3 separate regions of the Homo sapiens genome follow, and all the other regions are linked to region 1. The links are contacts of gene promoters, found by promoter capture Hi-C in human tissues and cell types (Jung and others, 2019). All regions are on one chromosome and are shown on one strand. Each heading gives the region's core, a stretch centred on a gene start or on the middle of the fragment in contact. The rest is flanking DNA. Distances are from core to core; before and after follow the strand shown. Region 1 holds the start of C16orf95 (chromosome 16 open reading frame 95). Region 2 has its middle 61 kb from the start of LINC02189. Region 3 has its middle 45 kb from the start of LINC02189.

The links. The method cuts DNA at HindIII sites, captures the fragments that hold promoters and counts their contacts. A contact is called where the count stands out against the background at its distance.
Region 2: a contact is called between a fragment that was not itself captured here and the fragment with the promoter of C16orf95 in region 1, in 2 of the 25 tissues and cell types used here (IMR-90 fibroblasts and lymphoblastoid cells).
Region 3: a contact is called between a fragment that was not itself captured here and the fragment with the promoter of C16orf95 in region 1, in 1 of the 25 tissues and cell types used here (IMR-90 fibroblasts).

Annotation. Positions count from the first base shown.
Region 1 is chr16:87,315,811-87,318,822 of GRCh38, forward strand. It overlaps C16orf95 (chromosome 16 open reading frame 95), which reads right to left and starts at 1,582. Exons shown (of 7, transcript NM_001195124.3): 1 at 1,281-1,582; 2 at 1-13. The coding sequence starts at 1,432. C16orf95-DT (C16orf95 divergent transcript) reads left to right here and starts at 1,699. Exons shown (of 2, transcript NR_135180.1): 1 at 1,699-1,912; 2 at 2,047-2,233. RefSeq lists an enhancer at 1,160-1,609. The HindIII fragment of the contact is 14,678 bases long and covers 1-3,012 here.
Region 2 is chr16:86,659,188-86,662,199 of GRCh38, forward strand. No RefSeq gene overlaps it. Among named protein-coding and RNA genes, the nearest start is that of LINC02189, 61 kb to the right of the region's middle. The HindIII fragment of the contact is 4,543 bases long and covers 1-3,012 here.
Region 3 is chr16:86,675,172-86,678,183 of GRCh38, forward strand. No RefSeq gene overlaps it. Among named protein-coding and RNA genes, the nearest start is that of LINC02189, 45 kb to the right of the region's middle. The HindIII fragment of the contact is 7,441 bases long and covers 1-3,012 here.

The DNA of each region.
Region 1 (3,012 bases), core at 332-2,831:
AAATGTGCTATTCCTAGAAGAGAAGAACAGAAAAGCTTAGGGTTTGTGTAAACTAGGGGGCAGGGATGCTAGAGCACAGGCCTGGACCTGTCTTCTCAGAACTGACTCTTAATAATAAAGCCCACGGGTGGTGGGGATGGGGGGATCCTCTGAGCCCAAGAAGAGTGAGAGGGTGACATCAGAAGCAGGCGTGTGCTAGCTCATGCGTGAATGTCTAGGGGCTCCTGGGGGCTGGCTGTCATGGAATCCTGCATTCCCAAGCCAACCAGCTTCAAGCTGACTCCAGCTACACTTGTGCTTGGAGCATCAGAAAAGACAGGAGCATTCCAACCTGCTGAGAACTTTCCAAGACATGTAGCTGCCAATCACATCACCTAGGATGATCTGTCAGACACCCTCAACTTACTGAAATACTGAAGAAAAAACATCGTCAAACTGTCCATTAATGAACCTCCTTCCACTATAAAAACCCGGGTGCTTTGTCTCTGGGATGACAAAGCACTTGGGGTTACACAGCCTGTGTGGCTCTTCCCTGTTCCACTCCCCAACAAACTGCTTGAATGTTGGCTGGATGAAGCGTCTCCAGTGGGTGCAAAGCCCTGCTTCCCTGACAGTAGTGGGTCAAAGTGCTTTGTATGTGGAAACCGTAAGAGCGATATAAGTGTTTTTGGGTTTCATTGTCATAATAACCATTATTATTATTGCTATTTTTGTGAGAGTAATAGGTTCACGCATCAACTCTCCCAGATAATGCTTGAAAACAGAGGATGGGGCACTGCCCTCCACAGCATCCGAGGCCCCTTCTGGTAATGACAGCACTGCTATATTCCTGGTGGGGAGGGGGGGGGCCACAGCCATCTCAGTCCTTGTAGTTCAGGTGGGCCAAACTCACCACTGCCCAGCCTGGAAAGCTGGGAAAAAAAAGAATCTCCTTTTTGTTGAGGTTGATAATCTGATAACATGTAAACCTCAGGAGGTCCTGGTGATCATCTTGCCTCCACAAGGGAAGCCAGCAAAAAGGAAGGAAGCTGAGAGATGGAGAGAAACCTTCCAGGACCATGGTCAATGTGTACCTGGATACATCCATGCCTGAAGGCCTACTTCTGACATTTTCAGTTATGTGGAACCATCAGTTGCGTTTTTGTTAAGCCAATGTAAGTGAGGTTCCTGTGGGTGGCGGTCAAGAGTTCTGCCTGTGCATAGGTCATGGAGCAATGCCGGGCCGGGAACTCACAGGCGAGGTGTCGGGTAGCCGCGGGCAGGATTCAGGACTCACTTGCCTGCCATCCTGCGCGCTGGGTGTGAGTGCCAACCTGCAGAGCCCGACGCACCCCGCGCCCGGCCCCCCGGCAGCAGCGCCTGAGGCTGCTCCAGTGGCCTCATGATGATGGTGACAACGCCGCGGGGACGGTGGGGACCGGCTCGCACGCATATGGCTTCTTATGGCTGACGCGCCCTTTCACACACACATCGTCCGCAGGCCCTGACGCCCTGGCTCCCGCCTTTCCCTCCTGCCCCAGGAGGAACCCAACCCGAGCTCAACCCCAGCCCCAACCTCAACCGCTCAGAGGAGCCCAACAACGCCCGCGCGCCCGCCCGTCCCGCTGACTAGCCCGCGCCCAGCCAATCAAAATTGGCCTTCTAGGTATGTGACCTTAGCTGGCAGCTGATTGGTCCCTCACGAGAGACGCGGGGTCAGCGGCTCAGAGCGCGGCTGTGTGGGGCTGCGGGGCTCCCGCCATGCCCGCTGGGGTAGGTCCTGCGGACCCCGGCCACTGGAGCCACTCATCATTTCCGACGGATGGGCCGGAGGGGCCGCCGGCCGCCCCAGCCAGGGTCTCGGTAGCCTGCAAGGAGAGAAAGAGGTGGGAGCAGCCCGCGCGGGGCCCTGCGTCTTGCATAGGCGCTTCTGGTAAAATCACTCCTTTATCTCAGATAATGAGTTGGCGCTGGATCGCTGCGTCCTCAGGTGGGGCTCGAATCGTGACTTTTAGAGAAATAGGTTTTCTTTCTTTTTTTTTTTTTTTAACAACATGGGGTTTAAAGGGCGCGGAATTGGAAGCAGTCGTCACCCGGAGGCCTGGGCGTGCAAGCACCGAAGCTCTGGCTGGCCCTGAGCCTCCCCACCCCACCCGCTCTTTTCGCTGGAACGCGTGTACTTTGGGCAGTTGCTGACGTGGAGACAGGACGTATGTCTTCATATTTTAGTAAAACCCAATGCCCTCTGCCTCTCTGATTATGTTCTTTAAGTTATCGCCAGTTCCAATTTGTATTTCTTGGAAACGGTTGGGTCTTCCCTCACTTTTCAGTATTTTCATGTAGACTCAAATACTCTGGATTAATATTTGTATTTGCCCAAACCATCACGAGCACCTCTTACCCTGATGGGCAATACTTCAGTGTGCTGCGTTCTGGCCACAGAGCAAACAGGGTGCTCCCAGGCACTGCCCTCTCGGATTTCTTGCCTTGTTATTTAATCATTAAGATCGTGACCTATGAGCAGGACTGTTTCCAGCCAGCACATACACATGTCCTCTCCTGGCCAGCATCCATGCTGATTAGACGGTGCCCCTGCCATACTAGCTGCCTAATATTTCAGATACCCCACCCCGTGTGTGTGTGTAAATCATGTCACTGCCCTCTTTGTAGCTAATGACAAAATTCCAAGAGTCACCATTAGCCTAGCACATTATGCCTGTCTCATTTCTGCCCACTTTGGAGCACTCGGCTTCTCTGCTGTTTTCCTCCAGAGCACACTGAAACACTGCCATAGCACAGCAGGGCATAGAAGACAGGCTCATGCTCCCCTGGACGCTCAGGCCTTCACCTCGGGCACACTAGGTCTTGTCATTCCATGTCAAGAATAGCTCTTCACTGCCCTCACCCACCCAAGAATGGCTAAAATTAAAAGGACTGACAATACCTAGTTTGTCGAGGATGTCACAGCTGGAACCCTCATACATGGCTCATGAAATTGATAAAACCACATTGGCAAACTGGTAGTATTTACAA
Region 2 (3,012 bases), core at 169-2,668, 660 kb before region 1:
AGGGAGAGGAGGAGCCAAGAGGCAGAGGACATCCAGCCACTTCCCAGGGCATCGACTATGACCTGCACATGCAGGTTCAGCCATTCTACTAGTATTCTGCCATGTTTACCCACTTTTATTGGCCATTATTACATTGAAAGCAGAGTAAGCGACTCATCTGAGAATGTAATGAAAACCGTGAACACTATCTTCTGAAAAATGCATGCAACATACCAATCTCTATCTATCTGTCTGTCTACCTATCCATCCGTCTGTCTATCCATCTATATACCCATCCATCCATCCATCCATTCATCCACCCACCCACCCATCCATCCATCCATCCATCCATCCATCCATCCATCCATCCATCCATTCGTCCATCCATCCTTCCATCCATCCATTCATTAGTCCATCCATCCGTCCATCCATCCATCCATCCATCCATCTACTTATTTTATTTTTGAAGTGGGTGCTGGGGTCATGGTCCATGAATGCCAGGGTAAGGCAGTCTCACGGAGTCTCCCTTCCTAAATTAAAGACATCATTGGAACTCAGCCTGAGTCTGTAGTTGAAGTGTATTTTTGTCCTTCCCTGCCGTTTGAAGGCTGGCATGTGGCAAGGGCATCTTTTCTATTGCATTGTATTGTTTCTTGTGTCTGGAAAGAATTCTGCTCTCCCTCTTCTGTGGAAATGACAGTTGGGTATAAAAGCTTCTACACCTGAAACTACAGACTTGAGTTTCCTTTCCAATTCAGATTCAATGCAGGCATAATCTCTGGCTCTTTTGCTGGACTGTCAGTTCTTACTTGTATGTCACGACTGGTGGATTATTGAGAGGAATTTGCTTTTAAAGAAGCACATGAGCCTAGTGACCACAGCTTAAATTCTGGGCTACACGTATGCTGAACAGCCTGTGCACCATCCTAGGATGCCTGGTGAAGGCAGAAGCTAGACTCCAACCCCCCTGCTGCTTGCCATGCCACTTCCACCAGACAGGGCACTATTTTCTGATTCACACGAAAGTACACAGCTTGGGGAGGGTGGTAGTGTCCTGCCCATGTGCCTGAAGAACTTCCAGAAGGCCAGTAGGGCTTCTTCCCGCATCACTTGAGCTAAGCTGCAACCATGTCCCCCAAGTCCCCTCTCCTGTATAATTACAGGTTAGTGTGGTCCACAAGACACATTTTGTGCAAGATTTGAAAGGCAGAGGAGCAGTCACATTCTTCCTGCTTGGAAGGTCCACACAGGACGCCAGGTGCTACATCCGGCAGCTCGTGCATGCCACCTGCCCTGCAGACTCAGCTAGGTGGCTTGGGGCGGCCACCGCCCTAAGCCTCTTTTCTCACCTGACTCCAGGGGGTAGGGATCTGTCCTGTGCAAGAAGGAATGGAATCGTTGCTTGTCAAGCACCCATTCTATTCCAGTTCTGCCTCTATGCACCCATAAACCTCTGTGCCTAAGTGGTTTACTGCTTAACTCTTTAACTCTTTTCAGCATTCCTCTGTTGATTAATCGATCACCTAAAATAACCAAACACCACATGAAGCACGGAGAAATTCTGAAGTTGGCTAAGACCATTTCCTGACTCCAAGAGGACACCTGGCATAGAAGGAGGCTGGGAGGGGAGTGCCAGGCCTTGGCAGGCACACAGCTCGGCCCTTCACTGAACATGTTTCTGTGCAGTAGTAAGCCAGATTTGTGAAATGGTTCTTGCTTACGAAGCACCTCTTGACTCATGAATATTTTGAACATATGACAGTAAGTTAAAGACACTTGAAGTCCTATAGTAAAGAAGCTTGTTCACCCTAGCATCTTCCAAACTTATTTGACCACAAACTCTTTATTTCATGAAATACCTCTTAGCATCGTGAGTACCTGTATGAATGCCATCTAGGGACGCAGACCTTGTTCTCATAGAGTTCTCCTCCTTAATGGCCAGGTTGTCCTGAACAAATGTCACCATCTGTGGACAGTGGGGACAATGGTACCTCTTCTTGCCCCAAGGTCATACCATTTCCTTCTTATAGCAATCTTGTGGGGTGAATATCATTGAGCCTGTTGTATAGCTGAGGCGACCGTTTAGAGAGGGTATGAAACTTAACTCATCTGGTTTATGGTGGAGCCAAGACTCAAAGCAGGTCTGACTGATAGACACAAGCCCGTGGTCTTCTCCATACCATACTGCCTGATGGTCAGGGCCAACTTGTTTTGTTTGTTTTTATTTTTTATTTTTGCGTTTACTCATGTTGCATTCTTCTTTGCTCTTTACTTAATTTCTGACCTCCTGATCCTCATTCCCAGCTGGACTGTCAGTCCCCAGAGGGCACAGATGACTTATAAGCCAGGTGATGTCTCCTCGGTGCCCAGCTGTGCCTAATCCATGGTGTGCGCTCCAAGTTCACTGATCAAATGCACGAGTCTATGTTGTTTTTATTTTCCAGTCAAATGCTCAACTCCTGGTTTTCCAAATATCTGTGCTGAGCCTTGGGGGCCGGGACAGTAGACCTGGCATGCTAGTTGCTTTTCTGATCTCCCTTAAGAACGTTGCCTAGCATTAAACCTGCCCTGTCTACACGCGTAATGCTATGTTTCCCTGCTGCAACCTATGCAGAAGACATAATCCAGAAGTCCTGCTGTTGTCTGATCCACCAGAAAAGGAAAATGTGTTTCTCCTGCATAGAGTTGCAGAGCGGATCTGAATCATTTAGACAGGCAGGCTCCGTGGATGTAATGCTGAAGGAAAGGGTCAATGCATTACTTGACTTCCTGAAGAACTCCTTGGAAATCTGATTCTGTTCATTTGTTTGCACGAATTGATTGGGCGTCTGCCATGTGCTCAGCACTGTGAGCCACTCCAGAGATGTTAAGACCCCAGCCCTTGAGTACGCTTGAATCTATTGTGAATCTATTTAATCAAAGTTTCTTCACTGCCAGGGTTTCCATAGCATCAAAAAAAGTCAGAGAGCTGATTCACTATTATGATTATTTCACCCCAAACCTGCTTTCTATCAAATCATTTGTGTTTTCTAA
Region 3 (3,012 bases), core at 213-2,712, 640 kb before region 1:
CTTTTTCTCTCAAGCTTTTTTGCTTTTGCACAGGTGAATGTCTTCTCTGCATGGTGAACACCTATGCATCCTTGAAAACCCGTCTCCTTGACAAAGTTTTCTCTAATACTTTCATCCCAGGTTGTTTGCCTCTTCTCTCATGCATTTTAAAAGCACTTTATACTTCCTTCTATTAAGGAATTTATCTTGCTGTTCAGAGTTTTTTTTTTAACACACCTCTTTCCCTGATCAGAGACTGTTAATGTCTATCTTACTTTTTGTTTTTTTGCACCATCTAGCAACTTGCTGGCATACAGTAGATGATTAGAAACAGTCAAAGAGTGAGTGAAAAAATGAATGAGTGAATGAATGAATAAATGCAGGGCAGGCAGGGACCTTGGTCTTATTTGACCCTGGATCTAGTCATCAAGCAGTTTTTGGCACAGAGGAGCCATTCAGAAGAGTTTCTTGTCTATAAGAGCAAGAGTTTCTGGTCTATAAGAGCGAGGGTTTCTGGTCTATAAGAGCGAGGGTTTCTGGTCTATAAGAGCCAGGGTTTCTGGTCTATAAGTGTGAGGGTTTCTGGTCTATAAGACCGCGGGTTTCTGGTCTATAAGAGCAAGGGTTTCTGGTCTATAAGACCGCGGGTTTCTGGTCTTTAAGAGCAAGGGTTTCTGGTCTATAAGAGCGAGGTTTTCTGGTCTGTAAGAGCAAGGGTTTCTTGTCTATAGAGCGAGGGTTTCTGGTCTATAAGAGCGAGTGTTTCTGGTCTATAAGAGTGAGGGTTTCTGGTCTATAAGAGCAAGTGTTTCTGGTCTATAAGAGCAAGGTTTTCTGGTCTGTAAGAGCGAGGGTTTCTTGTCTATAGAGCGAGGGTTTCTTGTCTATAGAGTGAGGGTTTCTGGTCTATAAGAGCGAGGGTTTCTGGTCTATAAGAGCCAGGTTTCTTAACTATAAGAGTGAGGGTTTCTTGTCTATAAGAACAGGAGTTTGTATTTGTTTTGTTCACTCTTGCATTCCCCGTACTTAGAGCAGCTCCTGTCACAGAGTAGGAGCTTAGAAATAATTGATGAGTGAATAAATTGTGAGAGACCTATTTTCATCAGCTCCCTCTCTCTCAGAGGCCTGCCATGGCTAGAGAGGAGCTTGTGTTTCCAGGCTGCTGAGGGCTCTTCCTCCTGTGTCATGCACTGACATGTCTGTGTGAATCAGAGCCTGTTGGACAAGGAGAGAGAGAGGTGGTCAAAGGGCATGAATCAGCCCATTTCTTGGCTTTTCCCAGACAAGGTGGCTCAAAATGTGTTCTGTGCAGGTCGGGTCTGGTTTTTATAGACTTCTGTGGACTAAAGTGAGGTCTGCAAATTGAGGGCTTGTTGGTCACTGTCTTATAGGCATGAGTCACTGGCCAGCAGCCTTCTGCAAGAAGGAAACGCCATCCTCTCCTGGTGACATGTGCCCAAGGCCTGTATGCGGCCCCTCTCCTAGGACTGTGTGGGGCTGGGCTGCTCGTTGGAGGGGTGCACGGTGGTTTTCTGGGTGGGCCGTGCAATTCCTGCTGGCAAACACAGTCATGGTGGAAGCTCTGCCAGAAAAGCACAGAGTGGTAGGGCAGAGTGTTCCTGCATGGCCTCCTGGTCAGAAGCTCACCTCTTCCTGCCATAACCTGGCCAAGGAGAGGAGAGCTCAGTCTTTGGTAACTTCCCCAGAGGGGCCTGGACCAGCCATATTCTCAGGATATGGCTTCTTACTGGGAGCCTTTGCTCTTGTGGCCATGGGGTGAGTTGCTGGCTGGACTTTCTCTGCCAGCACACACCCTTATATCACTGAACCCAGAAGGTTTCCTCCAAACAGGACCTTTGGCCACTGCTTGGAGGGAACTGGGGTGAGGGCATGGGGCTCTTTCATTTTGGAGACAACTAATCCAACCTGACATATCACCTAAGGTTCCCAGATTTAGAGAGAAAAATCAGAAACAAACAAAACAAAACAAAAACCAGGATGCCCAGTTAAATTTAAATTTTAGGTAAACTACAAATATTTTTATTTGTATATGTAGGCCCCATGTAATATTTGGGCAGAAGCAATTGGATACCACACCCTTGTGCCCAAATAGCTAAAAGACTCTCTTTCCCAAAGGCAAAAGGAACCCTATTAGTTTGTTTTCACACTGCTGATGAAGACATACCCAAGGTTGGGAAATTTACAAAAAAAAAAAAAAAAAAAAAGAGGTTTATTGGACTTACAGTTCCACATGGCTGGGGAGGCCCCACAATCATGGCGGAAGGCAAGGAGGAGCAAGTCACATCTTAGGTGGGTGGCAGCAGGCAAAGAGAGAGGGTTGTGTAGGGAAACTCCCCTTTATAATCAGTCATCAGGTCTCATTAGACTTAATTGTTATCACGAGAACAGCAGGGGAAAGACCTGCCTCCATCATTCAGTTGCCTCCCACCGGGTCCCCCCCACGACACATGGGAATTCAAGATGGGATTTGACCATCTTGATATGGTCAGCCAAACCATATCAGGAATGGAGTGAGTACAGGGACAACTGTGATCACTGGCGCTCACCCCCTGCCCCCCTCCCCTCTCCCCGCCATCCCCACACCATGAGGAGGCCCTCTGCACAAAGCATGTCTGCCCAGACTGTGCTCAACAAGACTTTCCTCCTGTTCTGCCTCCTGTCTGGTCTCTTTTGTCTCTGCCTTTTGCCAAGTTTTGTTCCACAGCCTTCCCAGCAAGGTGGGAGCTCCCCAGTTTCCTCCTCCTTCAGCAGAGAGTCCCTGTCTGCTGAAATGCACCCAGCCTATTTCTGTCACTGCCAGCACTGTCTCCTGTTCTGCTGGCGAACTCTGCTTACCTGCCTATCAAGGCCAGATGCCCCTCTCTGGAGCCCTCTGGATTCCTTTCCCTGAGCTGCTCTAACAAAGAACCCCAGACGGGGTGGCTTAAACAGCAGAAATGGATCCTCTCACAGTTCTGGGTGCCAGAAGTTTGAGAGCAAGGTGTTGGCAGGGTGGGTTCCTTTGGAGGCTGT